Linked DNA regions of Homo sapiens: region 2 is linked to region 1. Evidence: promoter capture Hi-C in human tissues and cell types (Jung and others, 2019). All regions are on one chromosome and are shown on one strand. Each heading gives the region's core, a stretch centred on a gene start or on the middle of the fragment in contact. The rest is flanking DNA. Distances are from core to core; before and after follow the strand shown.

Region 1 (5,840 bases), core at 2,008-4,507:
GCTCACGCCCATAATCCTAGCACTTTGGGAGGCCGAGGCGAGCAGATCACCTGAGGTCAGGAGTTAGACCAGCCTGGCCAACATGGTAAAACCTTGTCTCTACTGAAAACACAAAAATTAGCTGGGCGTGGTGGTGTGCCCATGTAATCCCAGCTACTCAGGAGGCTGAAGTGAGAGAACTGCTTGAACCCGGGAGGCAGAGGCTGCAGTGTGCCAAGACTGCACCACTACACTTCAGCCTGGGCGACAGAGCAAGACCCTGTCTCAGAAAAAAAAAAAATTCAAAAATTTGGCCAGGCGTGGTGGCTCACGCCTGTAATCCCATCACTTTGGAAGGCCGAGGCGGGTGGATCACCTGAGGTCAGGAATTCAAGACCAGCCTGGCCACCATGATGAAACCCTGTCTCTACTAAAAATACAAAAAAAAAAAAACAAATTGGCCGGGCATGGTGGCGGGTGCCTGTAATCCCACCTACTTGGGAGGCTGAGGCAGGAGAATCTCTCGAACTCCGGAGGCAGAGGTTGCAGCGAGCCAAGATTGTGCCACTGCACTCCAGCCTAGACAACAGAGCGAGACTCTGTCTCAAAAAAAAAAAAATTAAAATTAAAAAATAAAAATTTCATTTAAAATACTACTGATCTCCCGTGCTGACTTCTCGGGGTTTAACTCTCACTGAGGAGACGCTGCTTTCATAAGGGTAAGCTCAGCAGGGGCAACTAAAGTCATTTAAGCAGAGAGCTGCAAAGAGGCAACAGCCTCACTGCAGGCAGGGGTCCTCGTCACAGCTTCAGGGCTTTGCAGAGGATTACGCAATGTACACGCACAAAACTGAATTCCAGCCTCTCCATTGGCAACTGCATACATACATATATTCTTTTTTTGAGACGGAGTCTCGCTCTGTAGCCCAGGTTGGACTGCAGTGGCCCGATCTCGGCTCAATGCAAGCTCTGCCTCCCGGGTTCAAGCGATTCTCTTGCCTCAGCCTCCTGAGTAGCTGGGATTACAGGCGCCCACCACCACGCCCGGCTAATTTTTGTATTTTTAGTAGAGACGGGGTTTCACCATGTTGGCCAGGACAGTCTCGATCTCCTGACCTCGTGATCCGCCCGCCTCTGCCTCCCAAAGTGCTGGGATTACAGGCGTGAGCCACTGAGCCTGGCCTCCAATGGCAACTATATTAAAGGTTCAAAGCAATATGCACAAAAGTTACCTCACAGAAAATAGTGCAAGTCCTTGATACAATGCTCTTTAGACACAGAAGAAGCACTATAGAATAGAGCACCTCGCCCTATTGCCTTCCCAAGGGCGAGCACCCCCTCCTCTCTCCACAGCTCCTTCTTTGTTTTTTTGAGATGGAGTCTCGCTCTGTCACCCAGGCTGGAGTGCAATGGCAAAATCTTGGCTCACTGCAACCTCCGCCTCCCGGGTTGAAGTGATTCTCCTGCCTCAGCCTCCCGAGTAGCTGGGACTACAGGCACCCAACACGCCTAGCTAATTTTTGCATTTTTGGTAGAGACGGGGTTTCATCATGTTGGCCAGGCTGGTCTCGAACTCCTGACCTCCAGTGATCCTCCCACCTTGACCTCCCATAGTGCTGGGATTATAGGTGTGAGCCACTACACCTGGCCTCTCCACAGCCCCTTCTGTGTTGAAGCCAAGACCCACCCAGCTTTGATCCCAAGGCTTGGGTTCCCCACTAGTGTGAAGTGAGTTTCCAAATTATTAGGTAAATCAGATATGAGAAAATATTTTATTTTACTTTTTTTTTTTTGAGACGCAATCTTGCTCCGTCACCCAGGCTGGAGTGCAATGGCACCATCTCCACTCACTGCAACCTCTGCCTTCTGGGTTCAAGCAATTCTCCTGCCTCAGCCTCCCAACTAGCTGGGATTACAAGTGCACACCACCACGCCCGGCTAACTTTTGTATTTTTAGTAGAGACAGGGTTTCACCGTGTTAGCCAGGCTGCTCTCAAACTCCTGACCTCATGATCCGCCCACGTCGGGCTCCCAAAGTGGTGGGATTACAGGTGTGAGCCATCACACCTGGCCCAAGAAAATATTTTTAAACTAGTATTCTTGACCGGCACGGTCAACACTGATGTAATTGAAACTGTTGTATTTGAAGTGTTAGCAAAGAAAGAGAATTCTGGTTCAACAGAAAAGTCAGTCACGACTTTTCAGTCACGCATGAATTACACAGTAACCAAATAGATAACATGCCATGACTGACGACGGGCCCACAACAAATCAGCTCCGACCAACAGGGTCCACACCACCATGGGTCTACACAGATCCAGGTCCCGCCTGTGAGCCTACAGTGACGCGGGCCCCTGTGGGGTGGTCCCTGCAGGTCAGGTCCCTGAGAGTGGGTCCCAGTGGGGTGATCCCTGCGGGTCGCGTCCCTGCGAGTTGGGTGCCTGCCGGGTGGCCCCTGCGGGTCGGGTGCCTGCGGGGTGGTCCCTATGGGTCGCGTCCCTGCGGGTCGGGTGCCTGCGGGGTGGCCCCTGGGAATCGCGTCCCTGCGGGTCGGGTGCCTGCGGGGTGGCCCCTGGGGATCGCGTCCCTGCGGGTCGGGTGCCTGCGGGGTGGCCCCTGGGGATCGCGTCCCTGCGGGTCGGGTGCCTGCGGGGTGGTCCTTGTGGGTCGCGTCCCTGTGGGGTGGTCCCTGTGGGTCGCGTCCCTGTGGGGTGGCCCCTGCGGGTCGCGTGGTGGCCCCTGCGGGTCGGGTGCCTGCGGGGTGGTCCCTGTGGGTCGCGTCCCTGCGGGTCGGGTGCCTGCGGGGTGGTCCCTGCGGGTCGCACCCCTGCGGCGTGGTCCCCCCGGGATGGGTCCACCGAGGAGGCCGCTGGAGGCCGAGCCCGCGCCCGCCCGCGGCGCCAAGATGGAGGCAGGAAGCGCCGCCGCCCGCGCCCGCCACCGCCCGCGCCGCCCGCCTGACGCCGCCGTTGCGCCTGACGCCGCCGCCCGCGCGGCCGCCCCTCCCCCGGCCCTCCCCTCCCCCCGCCGTAACGTCCTGACGCTCCGCAGGGACCCCTGACTGGACGGCGGCGCGTGAGCGGAGCGAGAGGCCTCGCCGCGGGGGGGCCGCGGGCTCGCCGGCGCCGCTTACCTGGGGCCGCGCCGGGCCTGCTTAGGCACCCGGCGGGGGCGGCGGCGTCGGGAGCTGCGGCGGCGGCGGGCGGCGGCGGCGGCCGCGGGCTTCGCTCCTTGTTGGGGATTCGGCGGCGGCGGCGGCGCGGGCGCGCGCTTCCTAGTGACGCAGGCGGCGGGGCCGCGCACGCACGGGGCTGGGAGGGCCGGACACTTATTTGGCGCTCGCGGAGGAGGAAGGCGGGGCCGTGAAATAAGGCCCGACGGGCCCCGGGGCGCGTGCGCGGACCGACACTGTCAGCTCCTAACGCCGCAGGTTCCTCCTGGTCCCCGAGGCCCCCGGTCGGGCGTTGCCTGCCCCGCGCGGGCGGCCGGGCCGAGGGACGATGGTCAGTGGACGGACGGCGCCAGGGAGCAGTGCCCACGCGCGGCAGGGCGGTACCTTCAGGCCTCCAGGTACGGGCGCTCCTCGCCCGGACGCTGCTGTGTGTGAATGGGCGCGAGGGGACTCCCCTGCGGGGCGGACGCCTGAACACGAGGCTGTGGAGGAGGACGCTGTAGGGTGCGCGGACTCACGCGGAACATGCCAGAGGCTCAGCCAGCCACGGCGCTCCCAGCGTGGAGGGCGAGGGGCATCCGGGAGCGGCCGGGAGGGCTCGGTCACCCCTCAAGCTGTCACCCCAGTCCCACAACCAGCACCCCGATCCTATCGCAGTCCCACAGCCGACACCCCGATCCCACCCCTGCCCAACAGCCGGCACCCACCCCAATCCCATAGCTAACACCCCGGTCCCACCGCTGTCCCACGGCCGGCACCCCGATCCCACCCCAGTCCCGCAGCTGGCACCCCGATCCCACCCCAGCCCAACAGCTGGCACCCACCCCGATCCCACCGCTGTCCCACAGCCGGCACCCCGATCCCACCCCAGTCCCGCAGCCGGCACCCCGATCCCACAGCCGGCACTCACCCCGATCGCATAGCATAGCTGATACCCCGATCCCACCCCAGTCCCATAGCCAGCACCCCGATCCCACCCCAGTCCCATAGCCAGCACCTCGATCCCATAGATGACACCCCGATCCCGCCCCAGTCCTATAGCCCGCACCCCGATCCCACCCGAGTCCCGCAGCCGGCACCCCATCCCACCCATGTCCCACAGTCGGCACCCCGATCCCACTCGGATCCGGCAGCCAGCTTGGATCCTGTGGCCCTCCTCCAGCCCCCAGGGCTCATTTATATGTTTTATTGGCAGAGGCTGGGGCTGGCTCTGTTGGCCTCTGTGCTGGGTTTCTTCCTCTGCACCGCAGGACTGGCTCTCCTGACCTCTCCAGGTGTCATCGAACACCCTTGTGCTTGCTGTCACCCGCTGCCTGTCTGCAGGATCCCGGATTCCGTATCAGGGGACCGAAATTAGTCGGAAAATAGGAAGCAGGTGCTCGCTTGGATGGAACCCTGACCCTGTGCTCACACTTGTAGGAGGAGGGCTCTGCAGGCCGCCTCCCGGAACGGGAGGTTCCCAAGCCACTGCACTTCGGAGGGGCTGTAATTAGAGTTGCACATTCATTCAGTTCCCAGTAAAGTAGAACGTGCTCCAGCCAGTGAGGAAAAGGTGTTTTTAAAAATTAGATTGGCCGAGTGCGGTGGCTCATGCCTTTTACCTCAACACTTTGGGAGACAAAGGTGGGAGGATCACCTGTGGCCAGGAGTTCAAGACCAGCCTGGGCAACAGAGCCTGTCTCTGGGGAAGAATAAAAAAAAAAATTGAGCCTTTGTCAGTGCTACTATTTTATTATCTGGTAAATATGAGAGGGTTCACGCGGTCTATGTGTGTCATTTATCTGAGTTTGCCTATCGTCACGTTTTGGAAATAAATGTCAATAAAGTCGAAGAGGAGTGCTGAGGGGGGCCTGGGGATGGGAGGGTGGCTACATCATGCCTGTGTGTTGCGCAAGCCCACCGAGGTCGGCCTGGGGTGAGCCCTGGGGCCTGTTCTGCCTCCTTCACTCTGGGGCTCCAAGAGACAAACTGGGCAACAAGAGAGAAACTCCATCTAAAAAAAAAGAAAAATCACCTCCAAGATAACTTAGCTTTCTTCTGCTGGCATAACAAATTATCTCAAACTTAGTCGCTTAAAAATGCAAATTTAGGCTGAGTGCGGAGGCTCACGCCCATAATCCTAGCACTTTGGGAGGCCAAGGCAGGATTGCTTGAGGCCAGGAGTTCGAGACCAACATGGCCAGAACTGTCTCTTTTTAAAAAATGCAAATGTGTCCGGCACGGTGGCTCACGCCTATAATCCCAGCACTTTGTGAGGCCAAGGCGGGCAGATCACGAGGTCAGGAGATAGAGACCATCCTGGCTAACACTGTGAAACCCCCTCTCTACTAAAAATACAAAAAATTAGCCTGGCGTGGTGGCAGGCGCCTGTAGTCCCAGCTACTCGGGAGGCTGAGGCAGGAGAATGGCGTGAACCCAGGAAGCGGAGCTTGCAGTGAGCCGAGATGGCGCCACTGCACTCCAGCCTAGGCAACAGAGCAAGACTCCGTCTCAAAAAATAAATAAATAAAACTGCAAATGTATTCTCTAACTGTTCTGTAGGTCGGAAGTCCAGCCCAGCCTCACTCCGCCAAAATCAGGGTGTCTGCAGGGCCGATTGCTTTTGGAGCTCCAGGGGAGAAGCTGTTCTGGCCTTTCCAGTTTCTGGAAGCACTTGAGCCCCTTGTCTCGTGGCCTATCCCACACCTGA
Region 2 (5,840 bases), core at 1,594-4,093, 480 kb after region 1:
GGGAGTATAGGGGAGCACAGGCCATGGTGAGGACTGTCGGCCACAGCAGGGGGGCACAGGGGAGCACAGGCCATGGTGAGGACTGTCGGCCACAGCAGGGGGGTACAGGGGAGCACAGGCCATGGAGAGGACCGTCGGACACAGCAGGGGGGCACAGGGGAGCACAGGCCATGGAGAGGACTGTCGGACACAGCAGGGCGGGTACAGGCCATGGCAAGGACCGTCGGCCACAGCAGGGGGAACACAGCAGCACAGGCCATGGCACATGGGCACGGCGGGGCTGGGCCTCCTGCTGGAACTCCACTTGGGCTTCAGGCCACGAGAGTGGATTTCTGGGTCTCATGCGGTGCAGGTGTCCGCCTTTGCAGCAACACAGCATCGCTGCTGCCTGAGGTGCCCGCACTTACCACCCCCCGGCCCCATCTTGGGGAGAGACTATGTAACGTGGCCCAGGTCAAGATCACAGTTCAGGTTCCCTCCCCTCCCGACCACTGTCATTAGGGATCCTGAGTCCCAGAGCCTTCCAAGGGGCTTGTCCATCTGTCTGTCTCTCGTGGGTAAGTGGGCCCGGGATGCTTGCTGTGTGGGGGCCTCTGCCAGGACCTGGATCCCTGCTGCTGTCCACCCAGGGGCTGTCCAGGAAGCAGAGACATGGGAGGTATATGCCCACGGCTGTCTGTAGGTCTGGTGGCCAGCGTGTGAGGGTCTGTGTCTCCTTGCGTGGAGAGGACAGCACTGGGATGTGAACAGGCCGGGCGTCCCCTGAAAGAGACAGCCGGAACTGGGTGGGGGTGGGCGTGATGATGGGGGTGATGGTGGGGGTGGTGGGGGGGGTGGGCGTGATGATGGGGGTGGGGGTGGGGGTGGGGGTGATGGTGGGCGTGATGGTGGGGGTGGGGGTGATGGGGGTGGGCGTGATGGTGGATGTGATGGGGGTGGGCATGATGATGGGCGTGATGATGGGGGTGGTGGTGGGGGTGATGGTGGGGGTGGTGGTGGGGGTGGGGGGGGGTGGGCCTGATGGGGGTGTGGGCATGATGATGATGGGCGTGATGATGATGGGGGGTGATGATGGGCATGATGATGGGGGTGATGGTGCCCAGGCCCTTCAGCACCGCAATATGCTGCGGAAGTTCTTCCGGAAGTTGTCATCTAGAAAGGCGTAGAGGAAGGGGTTCAGGCACGAGTTGGCGTAGCTGAGGCTGGTGATGACGTAGGACATACTGATGACCAGTGGGGTCTGGGGCAGGTCCGTGGTCAGGGCCACGACAGAGGCCAGGTGGAAGGGCGTCCAGCAGAGGAGGCACACGGCCAGCACGACGAGGACCAGGACGGTCACCTTCCGCCTGGCCTTGCCTAGAGCCTTGGCTCCAGAGCGGAGCCGCACGGCCCGCAGCCTGCGCAGGAGGTCTGTGTAGAGCACACAGATGGTGCACACGGGCAGCACGAAGCCCAGGACCAACGTGTAGACACGGCTGGCCTTGAACCAGACCTGCTCGGGCCACGGGAAGCTCAGCCCACAGCTTGGGACCTGCAGCTCGTTGCTGTAGACGCCAGCGAAAGAGAAGAAGGGCAGAACCAGGACCGTGACGCCCAGCCAGACACACAGGCTGGCGACCTTCGCCCCCCGGTAGGTGCGCCAGGGCATGTGGCGGGACCTCACGGTGGCCAGCACCACCAGGTATCGGTCCACGCTCATCACGGCTAGGAAGTAGATGCTGGAGAAGATGTTGTAGTGGTCGACGGCCAGCACCAGCTTGCAGAGCAGCTCCCCGAAGGGCCAGTACTGCAGCAGGTGCTCCGCGATGTTGACGGGCAGTACCAGCGTGAAGAGCCCGTCGGCGACGGCCAGGTTCAGGATGAACACGTTGGTCACCGTCTTCATCTTGGGCGCCCTTAGGATTACAAGGATGACGGCCGTGTTGCCAGTCAGCCCCACAGCACAGATCCCGGAGTACACGGCGGGCAGGAGCACATAGAGGAACGGCAGTGGCTCGGAGAAGGTGGCATTGTGGCCAGTGCCATTGTCCTGAGAGACGTTGGCACCCATCGTGGGGAGGGAGAAGGAGCCCCTGCTGTCAAGGGGCTCTGGGTGCCCAGCGGCCTGCATTGTAGCTGGGACCGTTGACGATTTGCGCCCTGGGCAGGTGGGAGGTGCCTTGGAGTTGGGTATCTGGTTGGGGGCCTCCTTGGGCTGGATTCTAGGAAAGAAAAACAACCAGAGACTTTGAGATCCGGCCGTCTGTTAGGGCACAGCCACTCCAGGTTCTCTGGCAGAGACTGCGGCCACTTTGCCAGGTCAAGGACATGGGGCCAGAGGGAGCCTGGTGGGGTGTGTGGGGGCCTCCTCCCGCCTCTTCCTGGTGAGACTTCAGCAGATCAGTTCCCTCCTCCCGCAGAGAGCAGCTGCTGGCCACCCTCCTGGGAAGAGATGTGGATCCGTCCCTGCCCCAGCAACCCGCAGATGCACGGGCTGCGTAGAATCAAGCGGTCCCTTTGGAAACACACCTCCCAAGCTCATCTCTGGCTCCCTTGAATCTGAAGGTCCTTCCCTCAGGGGTCTTGGAGTCTGCACCCTCCCTCACACCCTCCCGAGAGATGCTGCAGACCCTGCTGGTCCAGCTACTCTTCTCTCCACTGACCTGTCCAGTGCTTCGAGTCCAGAAGTTGGTAGCCTTGGTGTGTTCCTGGTTTTGGCCAGTACAGGCAGTCGCAGGGATGGAGGGCGAGGTGTGGTCCTCACTGACAGACCTCCAGCTGAGGTTTCAGGAGTTTCAAGACCTGCCCTGCTGGCTGCCTCAGCCCCGGCTGCGAGGTTCCCAGCCTGGTGTCAGTGCTGATGCTGGTGAGGGAGGGAGGCGGATCCCCCTTGCTGACGTGGAGCCCGGAAGGCAGGCCCCACCTTCCCCTGAGCTGCAGTAGCGCCTGCAGTCGGCTGTCCCAGGGTCTCCTCAGCATTCACTTACCCAGGCAGACTCCTCAGTGGGCGGCTGAGGCACGTGTGCGCCTGTGTGTCAGGAAGGGACTCCATGCAGGGGCCTCTGGGTGTGCCCAGGTCTTCGGGCAGAGGGCACTGAAGGCATCTGTGCCTCTGTCCGGGAGTCACTGTGGGCCTGGGCACCCTTATCTGTGAACATGGGTGTCTTGGTGGGTCTCCTGCCCCACCCTGTGTGTGTACATGGTGTGTTCCTGTGTGTGTGTGCCAGTTAGGACATGTACGTGTGTGGGCCTGTGTCTGCCTGTATGGGGGTCTCTGTGGGTGAGCTCTGCGTTGTATCTGAGTGGGTCTACATGTCCTTGGCTGAGTGTGGGCATCTGGGGGGTCTGTATGCCCTCATGTGGAAGCAGAACTTGTTGGCCATAGGCAACCCACCTTCTTTTTTTGTCTTTTGCTAAAAGAGGAACTCAGCCTAGGCAAGCTGTGAAAGGCTGCAGAGAAGACGTTCTCACGCTGACACGTAACTCTCCCGCCGTCCTGCAGAGGTGGTGAGCATCACACTCTGCTCTGGGTTGGTCTTTAAGTCCTTCCCTTCTCCCTGCTTTTCTTCCTTGCTGGACGCACCCTGGCTTATCCAACCCGTGTGTGTGCAGCTCGGCCGCATCTGGACCTGCTTTGCAGGCAACGCCACAGCTGACACGAGCAGTCGCCAGTCTCAGAGCCGCTCCTCAGCGGAGACGTGTTGGGTCAGAGGGTCTGTGTTTTCTTTCCTTTCTTCTTTTTTGAGACAGGGTCTTGCCCTGTCACCCAGGCTGGGGTGCAGTGGCACTATCATGGCTCACTGCAGCCCTGACCTCCCTGGGCTCAGGTGATCCTCCCACCTCAGCCTCTCAAGTAGCTGGGACTACAGGCATGTGCCACCATGCCTGGCTAATTTTTGTGTTTTTTTTTGTAGAGACGGGGTTTCACCATGTTGCCCAGGCTGGTCTCGATCTCCTGAGCTTCAGCCTCTACCTCAGCCTCCCAAAGTGCTCAGGTTATAGCCATGACCCACCGTGCCTGGTCACTGTGTGTTTTCAGTCTGGGGAGATGTGTCTGCCCATCGAGACTGTGCCCGCTGCCTGTGGGGTTGCAAGGATGTCACCGCACACTCATGGTCGGCCTTCTTTCCTGAGAGTTGCTCTGTCAAGTCTATTGGTTAGGACAGGAGCCTGGGCAGTCGCCCTGAGTACCCTGATGTCGCCAGCCTGAGGGTACACTGTGGGTGGGCCCCGAGCTACCCTTCTATGGGCTGTGCCATGTGGATGTTGAGTCCGGGGTCAGGGAACCCTGCTGAGATATCTCACACTCCTCTTCAGCCAGTTTGGGGATGGCGGTGGGGGGGATCTGTGGGTGTGTCTCGAGGGAGCGTGGGGCTTGTAGCCACAGTTTGTCACATAAGTGGAGCTTGACGCCCACAAGGTCAGGGGATGGTGATTAGCAGCCGTGAGGAGAGGGTGCATTGGGGCTGAATTTTGTGATTTGGGGTGTTCGTGGGGTCGGGAGGGGTCAGTTCACAGCTCCTGGAAACCAGAGGCGTGACACAGAGAGGCCAGGCCTGGCATGTGGTGGCCCAGGCATTGACCAGGGTGTGGGCTGGGCCAGGCGGTCACTGGTCTTGGCTGGGGAGCGGCCGACCATGGCCTCAGCACCGGGCACTGGGAGAATGTCCCAGGCCTGCTGTCACCGAGCTGCTGTCCTGGGGTGGGGCTGGCCACGCTGGCCTGATTCTGGGCCTCCCTGGGGGCCTGCTGTCACCGAGCTGCTGTCCTGGGGTGGGGCTGGCCACACTGCCTGACTCTGGGCCTCCCTGGGGGCATTGCTGGGGGCCTCTCCCTTCCATGCATTTTGGGAGGGGCCCAGGCTAGTGCCGGTGCCTTCCTCTGCCCCCCAGGGCTGGCTGGCAGCCTGCCCAGTGACCCCCGTGTGGCCTGAGCTCTGGGCACCCCTGCTGGTCTTTGCCCTGCAGGATACCGACTGCCACCCACACCTTCTTCAGAGCAGGGTGTTCCAGGAGGGTCTTCCCTTAAGCCTCAGTAGTGGGGAGCCCAGTGTCAGAGGCATCCCTCAGAGCACAGAATCTTCCCATGCAAAGATCCCACTGTGTGTCTGGCTTCCTCTGAAGCCAACCACGAGTCTGGGTCCTCTTCCCTCCACCGGTATCTGGTGAGTCTGGGAATCGGAGCCCCTCCCAGACTCTAGCTCTGCTCTCCTGAGCCTGTCCTGAAGGCTGGTCTGGCACCACCGCCCGCCGGTCACATTGGAGGTGGGGTGCGCATGATGGAAGGGATGGGGACCCTGAGGGCAGTGGGGATGGGGGAGACTGCCAGGTGCTGAGCTCAGGACCCCGGGGAGGCCGGCTGGAGGTGTCAGGTCCTCCTGGCCACAAAAGCAGCAGCCCCAGGGGCCTTTTCCTCCTCCCAGAAGCACCTCACCGATGCCCGCTGCAACACCAGGGCCTGAGCCGGGGGTGCTCCCCCGTCTGTACCCCCAGCACTCAGGGCTCAGAAAGGCCCTTTGCTCTGTTCGTGGGCTGGGCATTGTTCCAGCCAGCTGTGAGCTTGTGAGAGCATCGTTCTGTGGAAATGGTTTCCATTTTCAGAAATAAATTGGCCTTTTCAAATGAACCTGTGAGGCCCTTTGGGTGAAGAGAGGAGAGGCCAGGGAGGGAGGGAGCCGTGGTCAGCTCTGTTGGGCAGAACGGTGGTGGGGGCCTGACAGCAAGGCCACTGACATGGCACATCCTCTGTCTGGGGTGTGGGGTGAGGGAGTGATGGGTGCCAGTCAGTGTGCATCTGAGCATTTTGTGGGGCTGCGTGTGGGGGTCTTGCAGGGACCTGAAGGAGACCCCTAGGGCAGGGGC

What was found. The method cuts DNA at HindIII sites, captures the fragments that hold promoters and counts their contacts. A contact is called where the count stands out against the background at its distance.
Region 2: the fragment with the promoter of NPBWR2 here is called in contact with the fragment with the promoter of GMEB2 in region 1 in 4 of the 25 tissues and cell types used here (heart left ventricle, lymphoblastoid cells, mesendoderm cells and 1 more).

What each region holds. Positions count from the first base shown.
Region 1 is chr20:63,623,844-63,629,683 of GRCh38, forward strand. It overlaps GMEB2 (glucocorticoid modulatory element binding protein 2), which reads right to left and starts at 3,258. Exons shown (of 10, transcript NM_012384.5): 1 at 3,113-3,258. MHENCR (melanoma highly expressed competing endogenous lncRNA for miR-425 and miR-489) reads left to right here and starts at 3,392. Exons shown (of 2, transcript NR_132417.1): 1 at 3,392-3,549; 2 at 4,347-4,981. RefSeq lists silencers at 2,620-3,159, 3,250-3,699. The HindIII fragment of the contact is 46,766 bases long and covers 1-5,840 here.
Region 2 is chr20:64,104,722-64,110,561 of GRCh38, forward strand. It overlaps NPBWR2 (neuropeptides B and W receptor 2), which reads right to left and starts at 2,844. Exons shown (of 2, transcript NM_005286.4): 1 at 2,643-2,844; 2 at 1-2,201. The coding sequence starts at 2,110. The coding sequence ends at 1,109. RefSeq lists an enhancer at 2,392-2,892 and a silencer at 4,876-5,059. The HindIII fragment of the contact is 24,186 bases long and covers 1-5,840 here.